Linked DNA regions of Homo sapiens: all the other regions are linked to region 1. Evidence: promoter capture Hi-C in 16 types of primary human blood cells and fetal thymus (Javierre and others, 2016). All regions are on one chromosome and are shown on one strand. The core of a region is centred on a gene start or on the middle of the fragment in contact, and the rest is flanking DNA. Distances in the headings are between cores, read along the strand shown. Region 1 holds the start of KRT14 (keratin 14). Region 2 overlaps LOC105371777 (a long non-coding RNA gene). Region 3 overlaps LOC105371777 (a long non-coding RNA gene). Region 4 overlaps LOC105371777 (a long non-coding RNA gene). Region 5 overlaps KRT23 (keratin 23). Region 6 overlaps LOC107985072 (a long non-coding RNA gene). Region 7 holds the start of KRT39 (keratin 39).

What was found. The method cuts DNA at HindIII sites, captures the fragments that hold promoters and counts their contacts. A CHiCAGO score of 5 or more calls a contact.
Region 2: a contact is called between a fragment that was not itself captured here and the fragment with the promoter of KRT14 in region 1, in 13 of 17 cell types (activated CD4 T cells, M0 macrophages, non-activated CD4 T cells and 10 more). The highest score is 14.5, in activated CD4 T cells.
Region 3: a fragment that was not itself captured here is called in contact with the fragment with the promoter of KRT14 in region 1 in 13 of 17 cell types (naive CD8 T cells, total CD4 T cells, naive CD4 T cells and 10 more); the score reaches 15.4 in naive CD8 T cells.
Region 4: a contact is called between a fragment that was not itself captured here and the fragment with the promoter of KRT14 in region 1, in 5 of 17 cell types (total CD4 T cells, naive CD8 T cells, activated CD4 T cells and 2 more). The highest score is 9.7, in total CD4 T cells.
Region 5: a fragment that was not itself captured here is called in contact with the fragment with the promoter of KRT14 in region 1 in 7 of 17 cell types (naive CD8 T cells, activated CD4 T cells, total CD4 T cells and 4 more); the score reaches 13.8 in naive CD8 T cells.
Region 6: a contact is called between a fragment that was not itself captured here and the fragment with the promoter of KRT14 in region 1, in 6 of 17 cell types (non-activated CD4 T cells, activated CD4 T cells, naive CD4 T cells and 3 more). The highest score is 9.5, in non-activated CD4 T cells.
Region 7: a contact is called between the fragment with the promoter of KRT39 here and the fragment with the promoter of KRT14 in region 1, in 6 of 17 cell types (naive CD8 T cells, total CD8 T cells, total CD4 T cells and 3 more). The highest score is 11.1, in naive CD8 T cells.

What each region holds. Positions count from the first base shown.
Region 1 is chr17:41,585,089-41,589,352 of GRCh38, forward strand. KRT14 (keratin 14) reads right to left here and starts at 1,807. Exons shown (of 8, transcript NM_000526.5): 1 at 1,222-1,807. The coding sequence starts at 1,746. It overlaps LOC124904003 (a long non-coding RNA gene), which reads left to right and starts at 3,259. Exons shown (of 2, transcript XR_007065755.1): 1 at 3,259-3,448; 2 at 3,775-3,863. RefSeq lists an enhancer at 209-710. The HindIII fragment of the contact is 10,096 bases long and covers 954-4,264 here.
Region 2 is chr17:40,870,007-40,874,270 of GRCh38, forward strand. The region is part of intron 1 of LOC105371777 (a long non-coding RNA gene); the gene reads left to right. Among named protein-coding and RNA genes, the nearest start is that of KRT12, 4.9 kb to the left of the region's middle. The HindIII fragment of the contact is 527 bases long and covers 1,706-2,232 here.
Region 3 is chr17:40,891,760-40,896,023 of GRCh38, forward strand. The region is part of intron 1 of LOC105371777 (a long non-coding RNA gene); the gene reads left to right. Among named protein-coding and RNA genes, the nearest start is that of KRT20, 8.6 kb to the left of the region's middle. The HindIII fragment of the contact is 2,707 bases long and covers 428-3,134 here.
Region 4 is chr17:40,912,740-40,917,003 of GRCh38, forward strand. The region is part of intron 1 of LOC105371777 (a long non-coding RNA gene); the gene reads left to right. Among named protein-coding and RNA genes, the nearest start is that of KRT23, 23 kb to the right of the region's middle. The HindIII fragment of the contact is 3,918 bases long and covers 57-3,974 here.
Region 5 is chr17:40,931,330-40,935,593 of GRCh38, forward strand. KRT23 (keratin 23) reads right to left here. Exons shown (of 9, transcript NM_015515.5): 3 at 44-126. All of the region lies in intron 1 of LOC107985072 (a long non-coding RNA gene), which reads left to right. Among named protein-coding and RNA genes, the nearest start is that of KRT23, 4.2 kb to the right of the region's middle. The HindIII fragment of the contact is 2,542 bases long and covers 891-3,432 here.
Region 6 is chr17:40,948,425-40,952,688 of GRCh38, forward strand. All of the region lies in intron 1 of LOC107985072 (a long non-coding RNA gene), which reads left to right. Among named protein-coding and RNA genes, the nearest start is that of KRT23, 13 kb to the left of the region's middle. The HindIII fragment of the contact is 4,385 bases long and covers 1-4,264 here.
Region 7 is chr17:40,965,220-40,969,483 of GRCh38, forward strand. KRT39 (keratin 39) reads right to left here and starts at 1,729. Exons shown (of 7, transcript NM_213656.4): 1 at 1,170-1,729. The coding sequence starts at 1,637. All of the region lies in intron 1 of LOC107985072 (a long non-coding RNA gene), which reads left to right. The HindIII fragment of the contact is 5,044 bases long and covers 1-4,264 here.

The sequences.
Region 1 (4,264 bases), core at 557-3,056:
CAAATGGACTTCACAAGCTGGACTTCACTGTAGCCTACATTAAGCTCTTGCTTCATGTTCTTGCCTGAATCCCCCTTTTCCCCCACAAAACTTGACCATAGCAGCCCAAAGGAAAACAGATGCCCCAGGCCTGTCCTAAGACTTTGCTAACTCATGGTCAACAGAGGGGGTAGATGCAGCCCCGGGCTTAGAATCGAAAGCCCAGGAGTTCTGGTCCCAATTCTGCCAGTGTCTTGCTGCAAAACCTAATGGGTCTTGGGGCTTCAAGTTCCCCACCTCCAGGTGAGGAGAATAATCTGAGGCTCCCTAGCCCTCCTTCCTGAGCTGACCTCTCTTCTGTCTGCATCAGCCAGCCCTGCCAGTCCTCTGCAGATATGCACATTCCTTTTCAAGCTCACAGGCCATGGGACTTCAAGTGGAACTTTCTCAAGAGATAAAACCCAACTAACACAGGGGATTAGAAAAGAGGACTCAGGGGAAGAATAAGAAGATATATTGGCCCCTGAGTCTGGTTGGATTTCCCCACCTCATCATTGAATTTCCCTAATCCATGCAAGTCATTAGAGCCCAACAGACTCCAGCAGGGAGGGCTCCCAAGTAATGTGGGAGCAGGGAGGAGGGGGCTAGAGTCAGGGCACAAGCCTGCCAGGCTCTCTCTGTGCAGGGCACATCAAGGGACCACACTAATTGTCTCTGCAGGCTCTCCATGCCCGCCTGGCTGTGGGGAGGGACCAGCCTGTACCAAGGCTTATGGGCGGCGGCAGCCACAGCCCAGACTAGTGAGCTAATGAGTGGTTTGGATGTCTTGCCTGGTCCCGTTAGAGCCTCACTCCTCCCCTGTGCTGGAGAACAAGTAGCTGCCTCCTGTGCTGGAAGGTAGGGCACAAGGGCCCCAGCCTTGGCTCTGCCATTAATTTGCTATGTGACCTGCAGCTGGTCACAGCACCTCTCGAAGCTTCAACTGCTTCCTCTAAAAAATGTAAGGATAGGAATCACTGATCTCACATGGTCTGAGGATTTGAGATCAGAAGGGGATGAGGAGGCTGGGGAAGGGAAAGCATCTTCTCACTGATCAGTCTTAGGGCATCCAAGACCTCGAAAGAAGGGATCTGGGGTGGACTCTGTCCTATAGAGAAATCTTAAGGTCTCAGGGGCCTGGGGCATGAATTGTTCCCAGAAGGAGCTAGCTGGAATGGTGCCTTCTGCTGCCCATTCACCCACCTTGTTCCTCAGGTCCTCAATGGTCTTGAAGTAGGGACTGTAGTCTTTGATCTCAGCAGGCCGCTGCCTCTGGTACCAGTCACGGATCTTCACTTCCAGGTCGGCGTTGGCCTCCTCCAGAGCACGCACCTTGTCCAGGTAGGAGGCCAGGCGGTCATTGAGGTTCTGCATGGTCACCTTCTCACTGCCCACCAGAAGCCCATCACCACCAGCAAAGCCACCACCAAAGCCACCACCCAAGCCAGCACCAAGGCCACCACCATATCCTCCCCCAAAGCCACTACCAAAGCTGCTGCTGCTGCTGCTGAAGCCACCGCCATAGCCGCCCCCCAGCCCGCAGGCTCCCCCAGAGGAGAAGCGGGAGGATGAGACAGACAGGCCGCCCCCGTAGGTGCTGGGGGCGCGGCAGGACCCTCCGGCCAGGACGGAGGAGATGCGGCTGGAGCCGCCCCCGATGCCGCCCCCGATGCCGCAGGAGCCCTTCATGGAGCTGGAGGAGGTGAACTGGCGGCTGCAGGTGGTCATGGTGCAGAGGAGGGAGGTGAGCGAGCGAGCAGTTGGCTGAGTGAAGAGAAGGTGCTCGGGTAAATTGGAAAGGGATGCGAGTGCTTTATACTCGTGGGTAGGGGGCGGGTCTGGCACTTTCCATTCCCCTTGGCTTTCATCACCCACAGGCTAGCGCCAACTCCCAGCCAGGTCCCTCCTCTCATCCGCCTCATCATGTCTGTCATATTTTACTGGAAACTCATTGTTTGGAGTGTTTTGGGCTTTCTTGTCCCGCCAGGCGTGATTCACAGGGGGAGGTGTGGGCCTGCAGGCTACACTTTCCCATCGGACCCTGGGAGTCCCAGCCCTCAGGAACCCGCGCACTGGGCTTAGCCAGGGTGACAGAGAGCAGGGCCTCTGCACCTTAAACCTAGTTACCTGCTAGCTCTCCATGAACTGAATGGGCCTTTAACATCCACGTAGAGGAAGCCTGCTGCTGCAGGGGATGGATACCCGGCTGGAAAGCACCGGCATGGCAAGGTCACCTTGGGCACAGACAGGCCTCCCTCACCATGACCCTCTATTAGAGACAAGGAGGTCTGGGGGGCCCTCCCAGGCCTGACCTCCCATGCTGTGCTGAGAAGTCTGTCCCATCCCTGAAATACACCCAGCTAGTCAGGTGTATCGTGGTTCCCACCCCAACATCCCCATCAAAGAGAAATCCAGGCAGCTCTCCCCAGCCCTGAGCACAGACCCTAATCTCCTCCCTATGGTGAGGATCTCACATCCACCACACCATAGGGCAGGTGGCCTCATGGAGGCCAGGAAACAGCCTGGAGTCAGGTGGGTCCTGGCTCTGCCATTTACGCCTCTGTGACCCAGGGCTTGGCACTTCTCTGAGCCTCAGTGTTCTCATCTGCAAAGTGGGAGTCATACCATCTATTCTGCTTAGTGCAGTCAGCTCTGAGAATCCAATGCGACAATGTATGTGAAAGGGTTTTGTAAACCGAGTATGGCAAGAAGCCTCGTTGGCATTGTTATAGCCCAGGCTTAGCCCCAAAGTGGCTGGAGCTGCATCCAGGAACAGGCCTAGGGGGGCCTTTTATTCTTCCAGCCCCAGATATCTTCTCAGACCCCCAGAACATCCCTAGTGTGGGCAGCTCAGGCGCCCTCGTTTGAGCCCCTTGTGGAACTGGCCCAGGAGATGTTCTGGGGAGGAGTAGAGGCTGGAGTGGAGCTGGGCTGTGCCAAGGGCAAGGCTGAGGTGGACACGAGGGTCCCTGACTCCTGAAGCCCCAAGGGTCAGGGGACATTTCTAGGAGTCCACTTGGTCCTGCTTTGGAGGTGTGTATATCAAAACTTCAGCAATCTCCCAGACAACCTCCCAAAGCAAACCCTTCCGGCCCCCACCCCACCCTCCCATCAGCCCCTAGGCTCCACAGACCCCGGCAGGCATGTTGAGAGGAATGTGATCGTGTCTGGGGCTGCCTGACGCATCCTATCTCCTCAGACAGGCCCCAACAGCCCCTGCTGGAGGCTCCAATGCTCTTCCTGGGATCAACTGCTCCTAGAAGAGAAGCAGGACCCTCTGTCACCCCCAACCCCACCTTGACTGTCACCAAAGAAGAAGCCAGAGAAGGGAGCCCCCCACTACTGTGGCCTAGGAGCTTGGAAGACAATGCTGAGACAGACATCTGAGCTGTGGGCTCCCCAAATCTGCCAGCAAAGGACTCTCAAGGATGTGAGTAAGCCAGGGCCCCACCCCGCTCCACCCGCCCCTGACAGACACTCCTAATCTCCCTGCAGAGAATGGTCCCCCCACCCTGGCCCAGCCCTACAATTTCCCCAGAGAGAGGCAACAGGGGTTTTGGCTGAGGGACAGATGCTTTTGTTGGGAGGCATGTTGCTGTTGGCTGTGGGGCAAGGGGAGGCTGTGCTCACTGGAGAAAAATGCTGTGTCCAGAGGGATCTGGGAGCGGGAATGGGGTGCAGAGCCCAGTACCGGCTTCCTCTGTGCCCCACCACCCCCACCCACCACCACCACCACCATGTCTCCTTCTTATGCAGGGATCAGGAATAGAAGCTCCGGAGCCCGGGACATAGGAACAGCTCTACTTTCCCTTTCATTTCATTCAATAAAACCCAAAAGAAACTCCTTCCTCCCCCTCCTCCGAGGGGAATCCAAAAGATAAAGATGGCAGGGAACCAATGACAGATCAGTCAATCACATAATCTTAAAAGGCACTTCTGCAGTCCCACCCCAACCCCACGCACCAACACCAGAACCCTAGCATGGAATATAAGCCTGATCCCCCACACCCGGTCTTAGAACCGTGACCCAACCTGGAGCCTGAGGCCAACCCCTGCAGACAAGGACTCAGTGACCAAGGAGCTGCAAACAACCCAGCCAAGCAGGGAGCAGACTTAGAGGACACCACACTCCCCTCCCCTCCCTGATGCCAAAGAAGCATGGTACTCAGACATTTTAAGGGAGGGCATTTTCTGGGGCATCAGGGGTTAAAGGGTTGTCAGTCCTGACTGCTGAGGCCCAGAGTAC
Region 2 (4,264 bases), core at 719-3,218, 710 kb before region 1:
ATGAGGAAATTTTTCCAAAATCAAAAAAGAGTGTATCAATATAAAGGCAAGCTACAAAGTATAATAATTTAAGTATTCGTGGATTCACAATGTAGACACATTCAGATGTTACTCTCATTCTAATGTACACATGCATGCACACACACACACCCAGAAACATGCACTCAGATGTCTTTGCTTGGTGCCAGTGTGCAGGTGCTCCCTGCAGAGGGATCTTCTGCAGCCCCTGCTGCTCCACCTTCCCTGGGAGCCCTTTCTCCTGAGAATGCTTCTTTCGCTGGCCTTTATCTCATTGGAGTTAGTCTCAATGGTTAGCACTTGTTTTGCCTTGTAGAGTACAGACTGACTCCTGAGGAATTCCAGACCTGTAGCCTAGATTCCCCGTAGTTTACTGCTGCCTCCTGTCCACCTGCATATCCAGATATTATCTCCCTGATTACAGCCTCCCCGAAGCTGAGGTTCTTCCATTGTGAAGAGTCCTGAGCCAGAACTAGCAGTGCCCACTGGGGATTAGGGGACAGATGCCGAGGGGTCACACCTGAAGCCCATGGCAAACCTCCATAAGGAATACCTGGGATCAATTCTGGCAAATGGAAGGACTGTTTTGACTTTTTATTAAAAAAAAAAAAAAAAGCCACTTTCCCAGGGACACAAATGATGAACCCGTGGTGAAATCCAATTACAACTTCCTTTTATATTATTACATAAGGGACAAATGTGAAGGGACATATTTCTCCCCAACCTAAACTCGTCACAAAGAGCAAGCAAGTGGGATTTCTAAATAAAGGGGGTTTAAGCAAGAGATTTGCAGAAATCACACATTTGCTATAGATGTGGAAAGAATGTAGCAACCTAAGGCAGTCTCAGCTTGAGAGAAGCCATGATCCATTTGTTTAATTTCTTGAGAGAATGAAAATCTGGTCAGTGGAAATGCCAGTGATTTTAGCCCCATATGGAGGTTTTTACCAAGGATTCCTTAAATCTATATTATAAGCATTTTGACTGAGCTGGTCTTGTTTGAATTATCAGTTATTATGTACTTACTACTTTTTGGACACTGGGCCAGCTGAATTACAGACATTATTTTTTAACCTTCACGGCAAGCTCTTAAAGTGGTACTGGTTTTATTTGTTTGTTTGTTTGAAACAAGGTCTTGCTTGGTTGCCCTCACTCCGGCTGGAGTGCAGTGGTGTGATCATAGCTCTCTGAAACCTTGAACTCCTGAGCTTAAGCAATCCTCCTGCCTCAGCCTCCCAAGTAGCTAGGACTACAGGTGGGCACCACAACACTGGCTATTTTTTTTTTTTTAATTTTTTTGTAGAGATGGAGTCTTGTTATATCGCGTAAGCTGGTCTTGAACTTTAGGCCTCAAGTGATCCTTCTGCCTTGGCCTCCCAAAGCACTGGGATTACGGGCATGAGCCACCTCAAGGCGCCCAGCTTCAGGTGGTACTTTTATCCTATTTTACAGATGAGCAATCTGAGAGTCCAGATGTTAAGTGATTTATTTACGCCCATGCAGCTGGGAGGAGGCAGAGATAGGATTCGGGCCTGCAGTGCCTTCTATAGATACCACAACCTTGCTGCTGGCGGTGACAATAAAAAGGGCAGAGGATACTCTGACATCCCCTAGCTATGACACCTGACACTAGGCTTCTGCCCTGCACATCTAACAGGAGGTGCTCTTTTTTTTTTCTTTTCTTTTAAGCTTTCTCCTTGAATTTCTCAGTGTATGGGCTGAGACCTAGAGAATGACTTTTCATGGCTTATAAGCAACAACATGACACATGAAATTCTGTAAACACACAGGCAAATGCGGTTTTCATTTTAGCTTTGACCTGTAACTACATCTCCAGAGATCTTATAAAGCACAAGTTAAACTTGCACTCCCCACACAAGAACTTGATGTTATGGTTGTTAACTATTATTCACTCCCAAGTGTCCCCCAAGACAGAGAGATTCCATTTTACTGCCATAGAAATGAAAACAGAAGCAAATAAAATGTCAAAAGAAATGTGCCAAGTTCAAAATTGTACCTCAGTGATTTGATCACATAATACGGGAATATGATTAAGTTGAATTTTTGAACTTGGAATTGATTTTGTGCTGAAAGGTACACTTTCCAACTCTAATGCCTATGGTAAAATTTAAATAATATTGCTCAATCTCTAAAAATTATGTTTATATATTATTTGTTTATGTTTCTATACATATAACATATTATCCTAGACTAAGCTTGTTAGGTAGGTACTACATCTAATTTATTTTTTATCCTGAGTCCTAGCCTAGTGTTTCGCTGAACTTTATCACTGCACTCCTTGAATGATTTCATTTGAAAGAAGTTAAGTCTTAATGTGTTTGAATGTGTCATTTGAAATTCATTTCATTTGAAAATGACTGTGCCCTAATTTACTGGTATGCTTTGACCAATATTTATTCTGAATTCAGTTATGAATGGGGAGCAACTTCAGAAGTTGAAAAGGGAAATATTTCTTCTTCAGTGGCTTTTTTTTTTTTAAGTGGGAGGCTAAGTTAAATAATCAAGACTCTGCTTTAGAGGTTTTAGAAGTGAAAATAATTTTCTTTGACAGCCACATTAATGTATAAGGCAGTGGTGATGTAAAAAACAATAAACAATCTTGGGCTTGTTGGCAGAGTGATTGCATAAGTTGAGGCAGAGAGGAAAATGATTATAGCCAGGGCAAACTGTTCAAAAGAATTATATCTTCCATTTTTGTAGAGTTTAGGAAATGTTCAAAATAGAGAAAATTAGTTATGTGGTTTTTACAAGTCTTTAGATTTTTATTGAGTAAATCATACCCTCATCTTTTCATGTCAGGTTGGTTTCTGTCCTGGTCTTTGCAGGGTTTTCTACCTGAGTTTTTTCCCGTAAGACAGACCTGTCATTTTCTGCAACTCGCTGATCCCTTGATCTGTAACATCTTTCACTTTGGATAACATTATAAAATCCTGTGAGTGACTGAGAGAATTTTGGGTTGCCTACATTTTATGTATTGTGCTTTTGAGATGAGGGTTAAACAAGGACCCTAAGGGGTATGAGTGAGATTGACTTCTGGGCTCCAGAGATCAATGGTTCTTGAAAGCAGGGGAGAATTTTGAAAGTGGTAGGAGACAGGAAGATGATAAAATAATACCCTGATGAGAGGAATCTTGGAAATGAGCCTAGGGGAGAGAAAACAGAGATGTTTGAAAGAGAATTCAAAAATAAAAATCACTACTAATGCTTTAAGTTGGAATTGTTACTTGGGGGTCTAATCAGGTACCTGAGGCTGATCCTGATGCATGTGGATGAGAACAGAGTGTCTGAGGAGGTCACTGGCCATGTTTTGATTTTGTATCACTCCATGTCATTCTCCTTTTTAGATGATTCAGAACTCTGGGTAGAAATAATCTCCAGAGCTCAGAAAAAATAGTTATTTCCATCCTAACCTCACCTCTAGGGGCTCTCTCTGAGTTTGATAGCTTCACTTCTGCACTGACAATTTCATATAAAATGAAAAAATACATTGATGATAATTCTAATGTGTGATAAAGACTTCTCTCTGGATCTGTTTACCTGTCAGAAATAGGATTATGTCATTCTAGTTCTTAGCTCATATCAGAAATATAGATAGATACAAAGATTAATGCTTCACTTTCACACAGTAACTGCTGGCAGAACTGGAGGTAGAACTCCACCATCTGGTCCACATGTATGTAGCTCTCACTCACTTCTTTGAAAGATTGCTTGGAAGAAACTAGAGACAGACCAAAGAAGCAAGAGGAAGAAAAAATCTTCATTTTTCTGATCTAAAAATAACAATTCTACTTCTTTTAACAGGTAGTTAAAAGAGGACCATCCTAAATTAAGAATAACAATCCTACCTCTTTTAACACAGTGTCATCATTGCCATATAACAGTGGTCAGGCCTAATCAGTTACAAACCCATCTGCATAGGTTTCTTATTAATCAGATTCACAGTCTGGTATTTGCATGTCAAAGTTTCAGACTATTCTGGAATGTGTCTCAGTAGGTGAAAAAGAATTCACTTTTAAATATTCTTAACATCTTTAAATGCAACTTACTAGCTAGCGTGACTTGGAAGAAAATTAAGAAAAAAATGAGTGAAATCTTTTCACTTTGGAAAAGAAGGCAATGAGAATAGGTGAGAATACCTTTTCTGACAAAAGTTGTACTGAATCAAGTCATGTGTGATGTTAGCCAGCAAAGCTGGACATTTGCCACAATTGGCTGTTGTGTCTGG
Region 3 (4,264 bases), core at 531-3,030, 690 kb before region 1:
TATATTTCCTTTACATTACCATTTGCAACACAAAATCTCATAATACAATAAACCTGTACCAATCACAAGATTTATTTAAAAAATACTAACTTATTTTAGTGTACTATAGGCTACGTGGTCCAGTGTGGGGGCATAGTTTCAACGGATGAGATGGATATCTTAATCGTGATCCTCCTGCGTCGGCTTCCCAAAATGTTGTGAGTACAAGTGTGAGCCACTGTGCCTAGCCAAGATGGATATAATCTTTTCATCCCAGAGGTGACGTTTGAAACCAGATAGGGCTGCATTTGGATTTAACATCCTAAATCTCTGACTGGGAAGCCACAGGCTCAACGGTCCTCTTCACCCCTGCAATTGGCTCCGTATCCGTGTTATTTTGCCCATGTCCAGTGTTATGCCAAGGACAAGTGAGTACTTATTTTACACAAGCTTGACTAAGAGAGAGCCCAACTGAATTCCTCCCAAAACAGAAGAATAATTTGTCACCAAGACTAATTCTAGTTCCTACCTCTAGAATCATAGTAAAGAAGTTACTGACAATTTAAAAATAATATTAGCACCTGTTTCTAGCCATCATTAGTTCATGAACGTTGAGGTCCAGTCTCAAACACCTACCTAAAAATGCAAATCTGATTATTTCACTTCTGTAAAAAACTGACAACAGTATGTAGTCAAGTCCAATATACAGCTCTCAAAGATCTAGCTCCTGCCTACCTTTTTAGACCCCCTGGTCACCCCTCCATGCCTCAGATGGCACACTCCAGTAACACACACCACTGATTCCTCCATTCCATGCTTCTGTATACTCCATCCCCTTCTCTTCTTCTGCATGTCATCTCTTCCAGGAAGCCATCCCTGTGCTCTCAAATTCCTTCCCTCCAGGATGACCAACTGTCCTGGTTTGCCCAGGACACAGAGCTTTCTGCAATGTGAGACTTTCAGAGTTAAAACTGGGACAGTCAGTCCCAGGACAGTTGGTCACCCCGTTCATCTCTCCTGTGCATGTCTCTCTTTCTTGGGTATAGTGTGTGCATGGGCTTTGGCCCTGATTCCTTTGTGGAATGAGTGGGTGTGGGACATGGGGAATAGGATGAGATGAGAATGACTGGGTGGTGATAGTGGTACCCCATGGCAAGGGGGACACTGGGACAGGACTGGGAGATGGTTTGGGAGATGGTTTACTTAACATAATGACCTCCAGTTCCATCCATGTTGTTGCAAATGACAGAATCTCATTGCAAAGGGAAACATGGTGTGTTTGTGGAAATGCCAAGTTTGTAGCACTTGTGTCAGATTTAGGTGGAGGAGACCTGGATGAAGAGGAAGACTGTTGAGTATTCTGATTTGGAGACCAGGCTGGGAGTGCATAATAAGGTACTGATAAGGTACGTAGGAAAGGTTTTCTCCAGTATTATTGATTTTTTTTTTTTTGAGACAGAATCTTGCGCTGTTGCCCAGGCCAGAGTGCAATGGCATGATCTTGGCCCACTGCAACCTCCGCCTCCTGGATTCAAGCGATTCTTCTGCCTCAGCTTCCCAAGTAGCTGGGATTACAGGCACCTGCCACCATGCCCATCTAAGTTTTATATATATATATATTTTTTTTGAGATGGAGTTTTGCTCTTGTTGCCCAGGCTGGAGTGCAATGGTGCAATCTCGGCTCACTGCAACCTCTGCCTCCCAGGTTCAAGCGATTCTCCTACCTCAGCCTCCTGAGTAGCTGGGATTACAGGTATGTGCCACCATACCCGGCTAATTTTTTGTATATTTAGTAGAGACGGGGTTTCTCCATGGTGGTCAGGCTGGTCTCAAACTCCTGACCTCAGGTGATCTGCCCAGCTCCGCCTCCCAAAGTGCTGGGATTACAGGTGTGAGCCACCACGCCTGGCCTAATTTTTGTATTTTTTAGTAGAGATGGGGTTTCACCATGTTGGTCAGTCTCGAACTCCTGACCTCAGGTGATCCACCTACCTCGGCCTCCCAAAGTGCTGGTATTACAAGTGTGAGCCACCATGCCCGGTGCCAGTCTTGATGATTCTTATGTTTATCCCTCATATATAAATTACCACCATGATTCTAGTTCACTCAGTCTTCCAAAACTCCAGAGTCAAATCTGCACAGACAGACCACAGGAAACAGCATCTCCTGGGAGAGGCTGCCATCTTGCATAGCCCTTGCTGCTGCCTGGAGGCTTCTTCTCTCTAAACTGCTGCATTATCACATCATTGAGCGTTTCATTCATTGTGATAACTGAAGACTGTAGAATTTATGGTGCTTGTGAAAGCTCTAGAAAATATTGCCTAGCTATAGGCTATAATATTGTTAGCTAACTAAATGGTAATAACCAATTAGCATTGAACTTTTTTAGACTATGTTCTAAGGGAGAAATCATCAGTGATTTAATTTTCTGATATGCTTTTATGTTACTTGGACAACCCAAACTTACTATTTTTGAAAACAAGTAAGCAAGTGACAAATCACTCACCATGTGTTTTTATTTTTCATGAGGCTTGTTTCTAAATACAAAGAACCATATAGGCTATCATATCTGAAAGAGCCCTTGAAAGTCATGTAGGCCATCCTCATTTTACAAATGAAAAGCTGAGGCATATGCAGATTAATGACTTGCCTATAGCAACGGTACAAATATAGAAAGTTGAGATTAAGCTACATAATATTTGCTCTGCAAATTGATTTTTAGTGCTTTTGCATGACCCAGGAAAACTGTCTTGGCAACAACATCCTGATGTATAAACAAAACTCTCATCAACGAAATTACTGCTTAAAAGGTGAATATAAGGTCTATACTCAATACATTTTTGTTTCTACCTGGGGCTAGAGACCTCCTCTTTCAATATGGTCCTTCCCGTGCTACTAATCACACAAAATTGAAACAGGTGCTCTAAGATACGGCGGCGATCATTGGCTCCAGAATGCTCCTAGAGCAAGGCACGATGTATATGGATGCATCAGACTAGATGAAGAGATGTATTATTAATTCGTTTTTCAGAATGCAAACGGCAGATGTGTTCACATTTCTGCTCGGTGGGGTATTTCATTACTTTTTAATGTGCACACACTTAAGTAAAAAGGGAAAAACAAACCATACAAAGCATCCGACTGGTTAAAAGAGAAGCTTCATATTGAAAATTTGTTGCAGAGTACAGGATTGAGCTTGAAATGGAGGGATGGAAAGAGAGAGGGAAAGAACGCTTTTCCCAACACCTAATTTTGCAAGGAAGAGTTGTATTAATAAACAGGTTTTAGGAAAACTGCCTGTAAAGATTAACATCTTCTGGGCTGGGCGTGGTGGCTCACACCTGTAATCCCAGCACTTCGGGAGGCTGAGGTGAGCGGATTGCTTGAGCCCAGGAGTTCAAAACCAGCCTGGGCAACATGGTGAAACCCCATCTTTACAAAAAATACAGAATTTAGCCAGGCATGGTAGTGCGCGCCTGTGATCCCATTTACTCGCAAGGCTGAGGTGAGAGGATCCCTTGAGCCTGGCAAATTGAGGCTGCAGTGAGCGGTGATCACGTCACTGCACTCCAGCCTGAGCAACAGAGCAAGACACTGTCTCCAAACAAACAAACAGACACAAACAAACAAACAAACGAACATCAACGTCTTCTGAGTCAGGCAGTTGGCAAAAGATGAAATGAAGTTTTGACAACTGGTTTTTAAAAACAGAAACGTATCTGGGCAAATTAAACTATTTATGATTTGCTGAGTGCCTCCTGGGTGGTCAGACACTGCTCTGGAGGAGCTTGTGGTCTGGCAGAGGAAATGCTAACAAGGGCATGTATGAAAGGAGGAAGCAAAAGTCCTTAGAAAGTGCTGTGAAAAATCAGGAGGAGGTGAGGCTGAAAGCTGAAGAAGCCAGGAAGGCTTTCTAGAGGGGTGGCTTTCAGAGCAAGATGTGCAACCTCTCCCTAGGATCTGGAGTCCTAGAGCAGGTGGGGAAGAGCAGGGCACTTACTCACCCCCAGACCTTTCCTGGAGGTGTGATCTGGGCTTGGATGGGAAGCACCGGCATGTGAAAGGCCCTGAGGCAGGGAAATGAGCAGAGGTGGGCTGGAAAGGAACCACTGAGTAGAGAAGGGAGGAAAGGAGGCTATAAAGGTCACATTCATTCCATCTCTTCGTGTCTTAACTCTGAAAGAGTCAGAGAACTCCAAATAAAGACCGCTCACATTTTAACGTGGTTGGTAAGGAAGATGAGGGTCTGTGGGATGTGGGAGCAGAACAGTGAGAAAACATCTGA
Region 4 (4,264 bases), core at 766-3,265, 670 kb before region 1:
AGTCACAGGAGTTGACTCGGTGGAACGGGGCATAAGAGTTACGGGTGGCTTTATGAAGCTTTTGTTGAGTGTGGGAGGGTGGAAAGAGCTTTACTGAAGAGACATGTTTTCTGTTTCCCAGTTCAAATCAATTTCCTTATCATGATACAAGCAAGGGTAATAATTATTAGGATTATTTACCATGATTATGGGTGACAGGAATTGCAGTTGGGCAAAGGGACTCTTTTGTATATTGTAATTTCCTTCCCTAAAGTTCTAGCTTCCTTATTTTGTCTTCCTAATAGTGACTCACACCGCAGTAGGCAGGAAGCAGGTATTTAATGACCACTTCTTCACTGGTTCTTTATTCCAACTCCATTCATTCCAATACAAATTTCTTGAAAACAAAGAATAATGACATCCATAACACAAATGAAAGCAGCCTGTCTAAGCTGATTTAATTTAGTATGGAATAGGACGCAATTTCACAGTTAGAGTTATTGTTGTTTATTTTTTTTTATTATTTTTTTTTTTTCAGATGGAGTCTCTCTCTGTCGCCCAGGCTGGAGTGCAGTGGCGCAATCTCGGCTCACTGCAAGCTCCGCCTCCCGGGTTCACGCCACTCTCCTGCCTCAGCCTCCCGAATAGCTGGGACTACAGGCACCCGCCACCATGCCTGGCTAATTTTTTGTATTTTTAGTAGAGACGGGGTTTCACCGGGTTAGCCTGGATGGTCTCCATCTCCTGACCTCGTGATCCACCCGCCTCGGCCTCCCAAAGTGCTGGGATTACAGGCATGAGCCACTGCGTCTGGCTGTTGTTTTTATTCTTAAAACTTCAGCCATCATTTGGTTCACTGAAGAAAGAAATGGCCCTTGAAGAGAATTTAGAAAGATTTTTATAAGTGAATACTCACTTATACATAAATATAGACGTATATTTTTTAGTGCTAGTTAGCTAACACAATAGACAATCCTGGACAAGTGTTTTCCATCCTCTCCTGTGAATCTGATTTGTGAACCTCTCATAGCTTTTACTACGCATGGAGTCCAGGAAAAATTTGGGACAAAGTGATCGATCTTAATTTCTAGACTTCATTCTGTCTTCTGTTCTTGGTGAGAACCTAAGAAACATCTTCCTTCCAGGCCTGACTTAGTGCTCTTGCAGGTTTAGCTTGCTTGGAGCAAGACTGTGCTAGTGGGATTCTAACGATGCCACCTTTCCTGCTGTGTTGTTTATCCTGTTCAGTTGATAGAGGACCTATTGAGACTGGTTTATAGACACGACACTCACTGTGGGGAATGCATCGAATTGCTAATTGATCAAAATCACCCATAATCTTGCGACTCGTGGATCAGCAGCCTTAGCATCCTCTGGGAGCTTGTTAGATGTCCAAAATCTTGGGCCTCAACCCAGAACAATTAGATCAGAATCTGCATTTTAACAAGATCCCCATATGATAAGTATGCACATTAAGATTTCGGAAGCACTGACATATAAGGCTTGGGACTGGGTGGTGACCTGAAACTACTGCTTCCTAGGGTGCTGGGGATGATACATGAACATTTTCACAATATTTTTTTTGTGATGAATCTCTGGATAAAATATTCTCAGCTGATGACTGTTGATGGTATTGGGTGTATCTGTGGCCTGTCCATTATTACTACCCTGTCTTTGTCTTTCTTGTCCTATCATATTCTGTGAGTGTGTGGGGAAAGAAAATTTTGATAGAAAACAGGAGTGAGTGTGGAGTCTAACTGGACAGGTTGGGGTCTGAGGTCCTCCAGGTTTGGAACTTGCTAAACTCTCTCAGGGAAGCAATCATCGTCCCTGATGCTGATTCGTTTTAGGCTAAAACAAGTTAAGAACACACCTCTGTATGAAAGCAGTGGATGCTTTGAGGTTTGATTAATGAGAAGGTAGCTTTTGGTTATAAAAACCTGTCCTCTGGTCCTGAGTGTCTATTTCTGACTCATGGATCTTGTCAGAACAAGATCCAGGTAAATGATGTCAAACTACCAATTGCCTCTGAAAAATATGAGTTCTGATTTTCAAATAGAAAATCCAGATTTCTCATACCTGGGCTCTTACCTTAGATAAAAGCCATCAGCAAGGGCTCATCAAAATGTGTTGCCCATATTCAGATTTTACATAACTCTCTAGCAAGCACTTTTGACTTGTGTGGCACAAAGAGTAAATATACTGGGTACAAATTCTGTTTCCACCATTTTATAGCTGTATGACCACAGGCAAGTTAATGCAGTCCATTTGAGCCTCAGTTTCCCCAATCATAAAATAAAGATAATGATATGCCACAAGGTTTTGATAAATGTTAAATGAGATTGTGAATGTAAAGCTCAGTCAAGGATAGTTGTTATTTAAAAAACTTCTGGTACATGTGTGTGTATGTCAATGCATACATGCTATGCTGCGTATGCATACCATGGAATTAGCAAAAATTGACTTGTAGTTTCTATTAGATGACTCATAATTTTATTAGATGAATTCCCATTTAAATTTCAATGGGAAGTTTGGGTGAGTAGGACAACCCATGTACTGAAATAGTTACACACACACACAAAGTTCAAGGTAAAACTTCTGAGTATGATTAGATCATCAGATCGTTAGGTATGTGAGAAGCACTGTCTTTTCCTTTTTGCATGATCTCACCTCCAGTATATTTTAGAAACTCTCTAACTCTCTTCAGAGAGATGGTGACACGTAGATGTTGTAATAGAATAGATGAGATGGGAATGAGTCACACATGGGAATGAAAGTAGGCCTATAGTCATTCGGAAAACCAATGTTGTTACCATAGGGAAATAACCAACAAAATACTTCAGGTGATATGTAAACACCAAAAATCTGAAAAGTATTTATTGATTAAAAGCTGTAGAAAAGTATAGCATTTAGAGTATAGCATTGTGAATAATCATGGCTAGAATAAATGAATTATACTCTTAATGACTTTTAAATATTATGACTAGAAGCTACGTAATAATTATGATCACCTTAATTTGTAAATGACTTATAGTTTCTTGGTGAGGGAGAACATTGCTTAACTATGTTGAAAAGAGATCTCCTTTCAGTGAAACTGTTGGTTTGTGTGGTATTGGAGGCATAAATATTTGTAGAGAAATTGTTAATGTCCCTGGAATGAGGAACTAAAAGAGAGTCAAAAGGAATTGAAACTCAACGAGAAGAAAAAGAATTTCCTTGGGCATCCCAGCATGCTTAAGTGAGGAGCAGGGGATGCCCTGACTTCAGGTTGGAGCTACACTGCTTGGTCCCACTTGGGAAGGAGCAGAGAGGAGAGCTGTGAACATCATGTGCAATGGCTTTACTCTTTACCATCTCTGAAGAGGGTAGACCTTTGCTTTTCTCTTGAAAGTTTTGATGTCATCTATTGTTATTAGACCAGGACTTTCATTAGAGGTCCATGTCAGTGTTAAAATGACTAGTATGCTGGTCAAAAGTTTGGTGGGATGCAAATGAACTAGTTCGCCTTAAATCAGCTATTGTCACTGAGCAAATAACAGAGTCTTCTGTTTAAAATACTCTGTTTCACTTGCCTATTGCGGCATGAAAAATGACCCCAAAACTCACTGGCTTAAAACAACCACCATTGTATTTGTTCACAATTATTTTGTGGGACAGAATTTTGGATTCAGAATAGCAGGGATGGCCTGTCTCTGCTCTGTGATGCCTGGGGGCAGTGGCATTGTCTTGAATGGCTGGAAACTGGCTGGAATGGCTTGACTCAGTCATATGCCTGGAGCCTCAGTTACAGCTGTTGCCTGGAGCTTCAGTTATGGCTGTTGCCTGGATTCCTCAGCTTTCCTTGGTGTGGGCTCTCCAAGAGGCTAGCTTAGACTTCCTCACAGTATGGTGTCTCAGGGTAATTGAACTTCTCACATGGTAGCTGGCTGCCTATAGGGCATTCCAAGAGAATAACTCCCAATGTGAAAGCATTTAGTAAGCCTCTGCTTGTGTCAAGCTTGTTGATGTTCCATTGGCCAAATCAAGTCTCATGACCAAGCCCAGCGTCAATGTGGGAGGCAGTAGAGAAAGGCCTGACTGCTGGAGGCATGGATGCATTGGGGCCACCAATATGTACAGCATACCCAGAAAATAAAACCATTATTTAAATGAGAAATTTAAATGCACATTTATAAATTTTTAAATTTACCATTATAAATAATGATATTATTTACTATCTGTTTTCTGTTGTGCAAGACCAAATAGGTATATGTGAAACTATGGTACAAATTGCTTCATGTCCATG
Region 5 (4,264 bases), core at 912-3,411, 650 kb before region 1:
AAACAAACAAAAACCCGAACAACCCTGTGAAGAAGGAACTTACTTGAGGTTGAAGTCATCCACTGCCATCCTGGCATTGTCAATGAGAAGAATAATCTGAGCATTGGTCATCTTACCATCCACTATCTGTAAAACATGCACAAAAGCACAAAAGGTTATCTCACTTGGACACACCCACACATGACCGCTGCATGTCTGTCCTCTAGCTTCCTGAATATTTGACTTGTTAGTACAGACAACTTCTTGTTCTGGCAGTGGAACAATGAATAACCGAATCAGTAAATGCTTAGTGAGCACATACTAGGTGCAAAGCAGAATGATTTTAAAATAAGAATATGATCTGCAGTCAGTGTTACTGCCTTTTTTCTTTTTATGTTGAGTTTTGACAGGCTTGGATTGATGCAACTGCTGAAAGAATGATATAGGAAGGGGAAGGACAGTAATTGTTCAAAATGCCCTCTAACTTTTTAGGTTATGGACATGTCATAGCATTTTGCTTAATTAAGCTCATCCACAGCTGAAGATGTTAAAAGGACTTTAGGTTCTGATCCTTTTCTTATTGTATTAGGTTGGTGAAAAAGTGATTTTTGCCATTACTTTTAATTAGTTCAGCCCTCCAAAAATACAAAAATTATTATTTCAGGTGAACATAATTCTTACTTGTGATAGCAATCATGTTTCTAATCAGTGTTACTGAGCAACGCTAACACTAATATTCAATGTATTTTGTAATAGTCATCACAGAACACATTTTTTTTTTGCCCGAAGTGACTGTAACTTGAAGGTGTGTTTATGTCATTGCAACTTATTCTGTGATGAGAATGTGCTCATTGTAGCTATTAAAATATTAACTGAAATAATTCCTTACCATCTAAGGAAAATGCTTAAGAAGCTTCAGTAGTGGTAAAGCCTCCAGTTAAAGACTTTCACTAGATGTTCGTATAATTTTTTTTTTACTTTGAAAAGAAAAATAGTATTGAAAGCACTTACTCGAGCAAGTGTGTATACATTTATGATTTGTAAACACTTGTAGGTATGTTATAGTCAGAGAAATAGCACACATTTGATGTATGTCACTGTCTTTAGGGTAGAAGATGTCTCGTTGTCAAAAGTGTAATAATGCTTTTACGCCAAGTGTTGTGCTGGACTAGAAACTTAGAGCTTTTCTTTGGTTCTGGCTCTGTTCTTGACCATCCATGTGGATGCATCAGGCTGCATCACTCTACTCTCCAGGCCTCAGTTTCATCCATTGTCAAATAAGGAGTCTGTACTAGAGACAGAGGACCTTAGAGGTCTTAGCTCTAAGTTTCTGTAATTTAGTTGGAGTCAGAGAATCCTGGGTAATTCCCATTATATTTACATAGCTCATTCCTTTATTTAGAAAGCATTTTCTTAGGACAAAGCTATACTTCAGTACAAAGGCACCTTTTAAAAGTCTGGTCCTATTTAAAGCTCCACTGATCCCATGGAATTTGGTATCATGAATGCACAATAGCAGGATTTAGAGATGGCATGAATGCTGGGTCTGGAACTCAAAGAGCAGGGCCTGGGATCCTGCTCCGCGCTTACTGGCTGGGTGAGATTGGCTGAGTGAGCTTGGCTGAGTCTCAGTTTATTCATCCATAAAATAGCAATAACAATAGTTACTTCATCAAAGAGTTATGAGAATTAGAAGAGAGTATGTCAAATAATGTCAAATAGCATATTATCGGCATATTATAGACAGTGAAAAATTGGTCGAAACTGAATTTGTTCAGAAAAAAGTAAATAATACACCTTTCTTTTTAAAAATCTAGCACTTTTATAGATTCAGTGACTACACTGTGAACATCCCCAGGTTCTATATGCTGAGATGCCTGCTCAGACTTTTGCTGTTCATGGTGGGACATAGCCAGGCTGGCTGCTCCTGCCTCATTCTTTTTCCTCTTGTGGGATTCCAAATGGTACTATGGCCCCTTCCCTTGCTATAAAGAAGGACACTTTTAGATATTTCCTTGTCTCCTCTCCACAGTGCTGCTTAGGGGCATTCTTACCAATACTTCTCCCTCCAGACCCCTTATTCTTTGCATTATGTAAGCTCCTGCAAAATGAAAAGTAGCTCTATCCCAAAGAGCCTGGGGGCCATTGTGGGGTAACCCTTACTTACTTGTGCACTGAGGTTTTCTATTTGACACACACTATGAGGTGTTAATCTACATCCAGAGAATCAGAAAATCAAAAATACTGTCTATGGGCTTATTTAGCTTTTCTGGGTTAAATTGGTAATTTATCCATTGCAAAGTCCACCTCAAGTGTCTGATTCCCCCAGCTATCATTCTCATAGCACACAAATGTGAATTCTGAAATGTGCTTGATATAGAGCACGTTTAAAACTATTTCCCATTATTCAGGCTTACTTAGTACAGAATTATGATATAACCATCATTTCTGACACAATCTTCATGGTAATAAGTGGATGAAGATGGGTTGAGAAACGATATATGAGGCATAGGTTTTTTACTGAGTGTTGTAATTAATCACCCAGATTCTCCTGAAGGCCCTCAGTTCATTCTTTTAAAAGCAAGTTGGCATATTCTTGCAGCATTGTTGCTTCAGGATGTTTGATCTACTAGGGAGAGGAAAACAGAATGTTTGACTGTAAACAAAAATGCCAAATATAGTCCGATTGAGAATCATTCAAGGTGTTTTATTTATGATACTCCTATGACTGTGTCCAATTCTGGATTTCAAAAGGATTGAATTAATTTTTAAGCTCAACTTGTTATCAACCTTTTGAGTGATATTTAATATACCTAAAGTGAGGGTACGGGAGAACTGTATCCACTCAGAGCATTTCACCAAGGTCCAGGAAGGATAAGCCCCAGGTAATTGTGGGACCTCCTTGCACCTCTGTTTTCTCATCTTCAAATGAGGGAGGTTGGGGTAGATAGACAACCTCAACTTTAAAGAGTTTCTTTCTTCAAGTGTAGAGAAAACACAATGTTAGAGGTAAAAATCCAGAAAAGAGTGAAATTCAAAGCCAAAGAAGTTTCCTATTCAATCTCAGAACCCAGAATTCCAGGTCATCTGAAGGGTGGGCAGGTTGCTCCCCACACCCCCCATTGCACCTACTCACTTTTCTCAATTCTGTTCCAAAGGATTTAGACAATGATTAGGTCTCAGTCTCCTTATCTGTAAGTTGAGAATACAAATACCTGCTCCACACAGTTGTGAGGATTAAATGAGACAATGTGTATGAAGTATGTGATGTGTGGTTAATGATGCAAGTATAATGCATTATCTTTATTCATACTAAGTGTCATTTTTATATGAGGTGGGCTAGGCAGCACTACACTGTAGTGAAATTTATGAGGCTACTGGAAACAGACCTGAGTTAGAATCCCACCTCTGCTTCTTGCTGATGGCTTTGGATGGCTATTTCACTTTTTTCCAAGCTTCCATTTCCTTACAGGGTTCTTGCAGAATCAAATAAAATAATATGGAACATTTCCATCATTGCAGAAAACTCTTGGATAGTGTTGACATGTGTATTAAATATCCAGCAGGATGCCTAGGTACATAATAAGTGCTCAGTAAACATTTCCCTCTCTTTCCTCCCTTTCTTTTTTTTAAATCTCTTCCGCGAGCTCATAAATTATTTGACTGGTTCTAACCTTGTATTTCTTTTGGGAGTCATGGTCTCCCTTTGCTCTCCATTTGCAAAAATCTTCAATTCCTCCTTTCTACAACCAAAGCAACTTTATTAAACAAAAAAACATGATGAGGACTGTTGAGTCACCTTGTTTTTTTTTTTTTTTCATAAAGACAACCATGCACTATATAGTTAAGGTAATTACAGTCAGTTATTAGGTTGATTATTCAATAATTAGGGTTCATTACAAGGACAGATTTATATTATCTTGACTGGTCCTTCCTACATTCAAGCAAGGATGACTGAGCATTGTGAAATAATATATATAAATATTGGAAACTTGTGATACCCTTTCTAGGGGAGGTTAAATCATGGTCTTACAGGGAATTTTCTGGGACTGCTTTATATAAGAGGGGAGTTAGATAGCTTTAAAACATAACCTATGAGATGATTGGATTCCTTCTACTTCTAGCTAATGTTATGAGACATCCCAGAAGGTATTTGCTTAGCTTTTTTGAGGTTTGGTTAAAGAGTTCGGTTTTTTTTGAACAAGGTCTTTATAGCCATCTCAACTCTCAGATTCTAAAAATTATGCTCATTTTATTATTATTGGTTCTAGCAATATGCCATTGT
Region 6 (4,264 bases), core at 887-3,386, 640 kb before region 1:
GGTTTTGGGGTTTTAGAGAGATAATACATGGGCTGTCTCTTTTCCCCTCCCTCTCTCTGTTTCCTTTGGTGTGGGAGGAAGAATAATGGTCCCCGAAGGATGCCCAGGTCCTAATACCCAGAGCCTGTGAATAGCTGATGTTACTTGGCAAAAAGGTAATTAAAGTCACAAGTAGAATTAAGGTTGCTAATCAGCTGGCCTTAAAATAGGGAGAGTATCCTGAATTATTCAGGTGGGCCCAAGATAATCATAATGTCTTTAAAAGTGGAAGAGGGGCTGGGCACGGTGGCTCACGCTTGTAATCTCAGCACTTTAGGAGGCCGAGGTGGGTGGATCACGAGGTCAAGGGTTCGAGACCAGCCTGACCAACATGGTGAAACCCTGTCTCTACTAAACGAACGAACAAACAAACAAACAAAAAACCCCACAAAAATTAGCTGGGCATGGTGGCACATGCCTGCATGCCTGCATGCCTGCACACCTGTAATCCCAGCTACTCCGGAGGCTGAGGCAGGAGAATGGCTTGAACCTGGGAGGTGGAGGTTGCAGTGAGCCAAGATCGCGTCACTGCACTCCAGCCTGGGTGACAGAGCAAGACTCCGTCTCAAAAAAAAAAAAAAAAAGGTGGAAGAGGGAAGTAGAAGATTCAGTCAGTGTTGGCGAAGGAGATGTGATGAAGGCAGAGTTAAGGGTGACGAGATGGCTGATGGTGAAGATGGAAATGGTGGACAAGCCCAGGAATGTGAGCAGCCTCTGAAAGCTGGAAAAGTTTGGCAATAAAACAAATCCCCCCCAGGACCTCCAACACTTTGATTTTAGTACACTGAGTCCCAAGTCAGATTTCTGAAATAGAGAACAGTAAGATAGTACATTCGTGTTTTGTGTTATTTTGAGCCATGAAATGCATGTCACTTTGTTACAGTGGCAGTAGAACATCGTAGTGTCTGTGTGTTTGTGGGGGAAACATCCAGTAGGAACTCTGGTGATGGATTTTTGCTGAAGATTTGCCAGGTCTGTCCTGCAGACCCTGGCCGAGCGTCGGATGAAGGGAGTACTGACAACACAGGCGTGCAGTGTAAGAGCAGCTAGGGGTCTGCCGGCACTTAGGGCCAAAGAAGAGAGCAGCTGCGAACAGCTGAAGCTGCTTGCTTTTATTCAGTACAGACATAATGCCGAAAGCCTGGAGCAAACACAATCTGCGGGTAATTAACATTATTGTTCCCCTTTTCAGGGAGCAGTCATGTGCACAGATTATCAAAGGTCGGTTTCTGGACAACCTAAGTAAACAAGCCTGTTTACGATAAATTCCCCTACACCTCCTTGTACCTACTCCTTGCCCTCTGCCTCAGGATCAGAGAACAGCTGCCTTCAGCTTATTCTCCCCTGAAGCTATGCAGAGCCTTCTGAACTTTCAGAAGGTTTGCATCCTTTCCCTATAGTTTCTCCCACCACTCTGACCAATCTCCTACAAAGATTAAATCAAGGTGAATAGAATGTGTTTTCCATGTGATTTATAAAACATATTTTCCATACACATACTTAGTCTAGATCTTTAATTATTAGCGTAACAGCAAAGATGGTTATAGTTACTATATTTCATAAACCCTAAAAAGGCAAATTATAGGTGGATTTTTAAATTTTCAAATTAATATATATGATATACCTCAGAAAATTATAGAATTTAAATCACATTTAATTAAACATTTTACAAATAATTTTTACGGAGAAGCATAAAATTACATAAAAGGAAGGCTGTTCCTGAAGATCCACGGCACGTGGGAACCATCATTAGGGCAAATGTGAATATGTGTCTTTTATTTACAACCAAAGCCTATTTCCCTCCTGATCTCACCCTTTGTCCACAGCTCGTCTTTCATCCTTAATTATTATTTACTACATAGTCTTTGTGTCATTACTACAAAGAGACGGTGCTGTAACTGGGACGCTGGACACGGTCCCTGCAATCTTAGTCCCACTGTACATTCTGTTCCATGTAAGTGAGCTCCAAATGACCTCTTGGTTCTTCTTACTCTGCAGCCACAAAAACATATCCATTTTGCTCCTTTCTCTTTCTTATTTTGTCTATTTCTCCCAGTGCCTCTCCTGAATACACTAATATAGCATCTTCTGTTTTTTTCTGAACCCAACACGTTTGATTTCATTTCTGATTACCATCCCTCTAATTATAATTTGTAGCCTTTCTTAAAAGGGACCCTGTGGGGGTGGGGGGGGGCAGTGGGTGTGGTTGCTCACACCTGTAATCCCAGCACTTTGGGAGGCCAAGGCAGGTGGATCATCTGAGGTCAGGAGTTCGAGACCAGCCTGACCAACGTGGAGAAACTCTGTCTCTACTAAAAAAAAAAAAAAAAACCACAATTGTCTGGGCATGGTGGCGCATGCCTGTAATCCTAGCTACTTGGGAGGCCAAGGCAGGAGAATCACTTGAACCCAGGAGGTGGAGGTTGCGGTGAGCCGAGATCGTGCCATTGCACTCCAGCCTGGGCAACACGAGCAAAACTCTGTCTCAAAAAAAAAAAAAGAAAAAAAATGGAATCCTGGGGGTGGACTTTGGATATTTCATCCTATCAGCCTTGTGTCCTGTTACTCTTGGGATGGGTCAAAACCAGGAAGTCCCCTGCAGCTTTGGCAGCCCACAATTGCTGATGAAGCCACAAATTGTTGGAAACATGAATATCCGGCATTCATTGTTTTGAGCCTATGCTCGCCATGAATATGAACTAGTTAGAAATGAGACCTACACTTTCCCAATGCTTCTCCATTCAAGACCTCTTGGCTTTATATCTAGTAGAGCAGGGCTATACTGTGCCAATCTTCTAGCAATAAACTTCACACAAATCCAACAGCCTAATTGTTGTGGTTAGAATGAGAAGAGATGAAGATGCTGTTGAGTTAGGTCATCTGGTCTCCAAAGCAGAACTTCACAAGGTGATACTTTCTTGTGAAGTCACAGTGGTCTATGTCTGTTCTTAGGCTGGTGGGTTATTAGTGCACCAGAACCAAAGGGATTCTCAGGAGCTGACTCAGAGTAACCTGACTTTTAAGTGCCAGATGAAAGAGACAGAATGCAAACTTATTAATTTAACATTGAAAGATGATCCATTTTGCAACCACAGAGTTCCCAACTGCAAATCAATGCACCTTCTTTGTTGTACCTAAGAATTAGAGAAACCAAATTGTAATATGAAGGCTTTTGTCAAAAATGGAACTAGAAGAGGGATATGGGGTCTTGAGGAATGAGGTTGAAAAACTGCCTCAAGTCCACACGTGCTTAGATGGTGTTCATGAGTTCAGTGTTGCCCCTTCCTGGATTGGGCTGGACACTGTTGTGTTGTGTTTTTAGGGCTCACTTTCTCTTTTTAAAATATTTTCTTAACCACTTGAACCACCAGGGATATGGCTCACCTTCTTTAGACCTCCAAGACAAGCATTATTTCTTTAATTCTTTATAGCTTTCATTAGGCTACATGTATGACATTTTCAAACTTGAGTAATTATTTAATTGATTGGGCATTTGGAATAGAGGATTTGAGTTTGTTCAGATTTTGACTTTAACATTTACTAGCTGTGACACTGAGCAAATTACTTAACTTCTGTAAGCCTTAGTTCACTTGTTAGTAATGTGGTAATAACCATAGTATGGTAGGGCCATTGTGAGAATTGAGTGAGATAATTCATGTAAAGCATGTAGCACAATGTCTAGAGGCATAATATTTAATCAGTTTTTAATTGAATGAAAGAAGCATTACTCTTTCTACTTTTTGGCCCTAGGAGACACTGTGGCTTCTGTGCATCTGTGATTACTTTTATTATGTGTTGGCGGTGGAGAAGCCTTCCAGCTGTTTTCTCCATTGACACCATAACCTGACTCCAGGAAACATCAGGGCCACAAGAGACAAGGGTAACAGATATTGTACTAGGAGAAGGGCCATCAGTCCTCTCTGAATTGCCCTGTCATTTCAGTTGTCCACAAAAGTGATCCTGTTACAGGGATGACTTCAAACTGTTCTCCCTTCTCCTCCAGGGCTATCTTCTTCCTACTGGCCGCAAAGATTGTGAAGGTTGATACATGATGGAGAGGTCCTTTACAACTGAGCTCCCTAACATTCTGGAAAACAGAAGAGTTGGACCTTTATGTGGTTTTTACTTTGGGTCAGGTGTGACTCAGCTTTCTTTTAAAAAGAAAGGTTCTATCCTTAATATAGCACTTTCATTAGTTATCAGAATGGCTTTGCATGACTATGCC
Region 7 (4,264 bases), core at 479-2,978, 620 kb before region 1:
ACAAAAATTATCTGGGTGTGGTGGTGCGTGCCTGTAGACCCAGCTACTAGAGAGGCAGAGGAGGGAGAATCGCTTGAACCTGGGAGCTGGAGGTTGCAGTGAGCAGAGATCGCGCCATTGCACTCCAGCCTGGTGACAGAGTGAGACTCCATCTCAATAAATACATAAATAAATAAATAAAAAATAAAATAAAATCCATCCTAAATTTATATAAATACCATGATCCACTAGAATGTCAACTCCATGAGGGCAGGGACTTTTTAAAGGTCACCAATATTTTCCCAGAATCTAGAACAATGTTTGGCCCAATGTTGTTGCTGCTCAGTAAACATTTGTTGAATGAATAAAACTGAATAAATCCAGATATGTAGTAGCAGAATACGTCTGTGCATAACAAACTTAGGTTTGGTGTAGAAACAAACCAAGCAATGTGGAGATGATAACATAAGCATAAAAGGAGAAAAAGGTGGTGATGGTTGAAAAATGGATAAAAACTAAATTGCTTAGAAACTCATTAAAGCAAAATTTATTTTCTCTGATCTCTGTTTCCCTATTTTTATTTAAAAAATGGCAACAACTTGCTGTTAACATCTTTTGGTCCTGAGTCATCTAGTTATAATGGTAGAGTGTATTTCTGGAGAAAGGAAACACCATGAGACTCTTCTTTTTGTTTCTGATTTTTAAAGACATAGTCTCACTTTTGTCTGGGCTGGAGTGCAGTGGCAGGATCTTGGCTCATGGCAGCCTCAACCTCTTGGGCTCAAGTGATCCTCCCACCTCAGCCTCCCAAGTAGCTGGGACCACAGGCATGTGCCACCACGCCCATCTAATTTTTTTTTGTGTGTGTATGTGTGTGTGTGTGTGTGTGTGTGTAAGGATGGAATTTCATCATGTTGCCCAGGATGGTCTAGAACTCCTGGGCTCAAGTGATCTGTCTGCCTCAGCCTCCCAAAGTGTTAGGATTACAGGTGTGCATCACTGCGCCTGACCAGAAATACTATCAGACTCTGAATGCTGCCTCAAGATGACAATTTCACTCAAGAAATTTTTCTATTCTTCAAAAAAATTTTCAGCATCAACTGAACAAAAAATATTAAAGTTTAGCAAATAACTGTTGCTTGGAAACCATTAATTCACAACACGATTAAACAGGTTCTTAGGAATCTTACCTTCTGCTGGAGCTCCTCAATGGTAGTGTAGTAAGACAGGTAATCAGGACATAGAACAGGGAGCTCTTTGTTACTTTCTTCCTGGATTTTAGATTCCAGTTCAGCATTCTCTCGTTCTAGCATTCGCACCTTTTGCAGGTAGTTAGCAAGGCGCTCGTTCAAGATTTGCATGGTCTCCTTCTCATTACTGTTGATGCCTTCACCATACCAGCTGCAGTCATCCAGAGAAAAACGGGCATTGAAGTTGTTCATTAGGTAGATGGGCTTGCGACAAAAGCGAGGAGTGGGTTGGCAGCCCTGGTCCCAGGGAATTCTGAGAACGTGGCCAGCTGGTTGACAGTTGTTGACTGTAAGGCCACCAGGATGGCAGCCGTTGTTAGAAGAGATGGTACTAACATTTGTAATCCTAGAGCAGTTTTGACATGGGGTTGAAGGAGAATTGGTTGTTGTACAGCCCTTGGTGTCCATAGTATGTGTCTGGCTTTAGTTTGTTCCAGGTCTGTGGTCACCAGGATGAAAAGCTCAAGCCACCTCCACAGAGTCTGAATTCCAAGGCTCTTGGTGTTTTCCTCTTTGAAGTGCTTATATAGCCTCTCTTCTACGTGGTGTCACACAGGTGGGATGTTTTCCTTTCTCAGGTTTATATCAAATCCTGTAGGAACATCTTATTAGTCTGCTTTTTACTTGCTTAAGAAGAGTTATTTGTCTCATAAACATGTGCATTTAGGCTGTTAGTAAGTTATTACCCATCATAACTACTACTTGTCTATTGGACCCAGAGCTTCAAATTATGTCTTCAAAAGGAACTGTCCTAACAGCATCCATTATTAAGCAGGTGTGAGTATACTAAGTTCATTACATTCTTGTTGACCTCTCCACTTGGCACTGAGCTTAACCAGGAATGAGTTCATCCTTCTTTTCCTTTCTTCTCTAGAAAAGGGAAACTATTAATGTTTAATAATTATTGGTAAACTTAGAAATCAGAAGTCAATATTTTAGTTTGTTCTGCCCAAATGGTTTCCCCATTTTCAGTGTCAGGACAATGTGAGTATGAATTAAAATGTTAGTCTTTTAAAAGTCTTGTTTTAAAGATAATTGCTAGATTTATGTTTTAGCTTTCCATAAAATGTAATAACATAAAATAAAATATAAATAAAATATGAAATAAAATAAAAGCCATGGGGAAAAGGTAGGGTTTGATTGCTAATAAGAAATTTCTTGGAAAAGAGACTAGCTCTCTTTTGGTTTTCCAAAGTCCACATTTTATAACATTTTTAGTGCTTGGTGTTTGCTTGTGGTATTACATTAGATAAAAATGTATCACAGTGTTGGTTTATACTGGATGTTTAAATAGGATTCATTGAAAGGGGTGTGTTTTCTTTCTGAGGAATACTTACTCAGCATTTTCTTCAGAAAGTTACTTGCTGCTAATCCTTTATGGAGGCTCTAGGGGAACATCATTTTCTTGCCTTTTCCAGCTTCTACAGGCTGTCCACATCCTCAGCTAGTGGCCCCTTTTCATCCTTTTTTTTTTTTCTTGAATTATGAGATTTTTTGTACTTTGAGTTCTGGGATACATGTGCAGAACGTGCAGGTTTGCTACATAGGTATACAAGTGCCATGGTGGTTTGCTGTACCCATCAACCTGTCATCTACATTAGGTATTTCTCCTAATGCTATCCCACCCCTAGCCCCTCACCCCCTCACAGTCCCCGGTGTGATGTTCCCCTCCCTGTGTCCATGTGTGCTCATTGTTCAACTCCCACTTATGAGTGAGAACATGCAGTGTTTGGTTTTCTGTTCCTGTGTGAGTTTGCTGAGAATGATGGTTTCCAGCTTTATTCATGTCCCTGCAAAGGACATGAACTAATCCTTTATTATGGCTGTATAGTATTCCATGGTGTATATGTGCCACATTTTCTTTATCCAGTCCATCATTGATGGGCATTTGGGTTGGTTCCATGTCTTTGCTATTGTGAATAGTGCTGCAATAAACATACATGTGCATGTGTCTTTATAGTAGAATGATTTATAATCCTTTGGGTATGTATCAAGTAATAGGATTGCTGGGTCAAACTGTATTTATGGTTCTTGATCCTTAAGAAATTGCCACACTGTCTTCTGCATTGGTTGAACTAATTTACACTCCCACCAACTGTGTAAAAGTGTTCCAATTTCTCTCCATCCTCTCCAGCATCTGTTGTTTCCTGACTTTTTAATGATTGTCATTCTAACTGGTGTGAGATGGTATCTCATTGTGGTTTGATTTGCATTTCTCTAGTGACCAGTGATGATGAGCTTTTTTCATATGTTTGTTGGCCACATAAATGTCTTCTTTTGAGAAGTGTCTTTCTATATCCTTAGCCCATTTTTTTGATGGGGTTGTTTGTTTTTTCTTGTAAATTTGTTTAAGTTCCTTGTAGATTCTGTATATTAGCCCTTTGTCAGATGGACAGATTGCAAAAATTTTCTCCCATTCTGTAGGAGGCTGAGGCAGAAGAATTACTTGAACCCAGGAGTTCAAGTTCAGGTGGGCAACACAGTGCGATTTCATTTTTAATAAAATAAAATAAAATACAAAATAAAAGCCATGGGGAAAAGGTAGACCGTTATATGTATTATATGTACTTTGGGGACAATTTTGTATTCCCTTTGGTGTGGGGGCAGGGAATGTTGAAACCATACTTCATCCTTTACAGTGGGACGAATTACAAGTAGATCAAAGATTGAGATATGAAAAATAAATAATAAATATGCCCAAAAGGATAATTATTTTATAAATTTGGAGTCAGAAGACTTTTCCAATGATGACTCAAAATTAAGAAGCCGTAAAAAACTGTTAGATTTGACTCCATAAAATAACAGTGTTTGAACTTGTGCTTGGGTGAAAAATACAACCTGTAAAACCAGAAGACAAGATGACAAACTGGGAAACAATATTACAATTACACTCTAGACAGTGACCAAAAGGAAAATACAAAAGGCACTTAAAATAAGAAAAAATGCTCAATGTCACTCATGAAAAGAGAAATGTAAATTTAAATTATACTGAGATATTTTAGTTTTCCACCTATCAAACTGAAAAAAATCAAAGT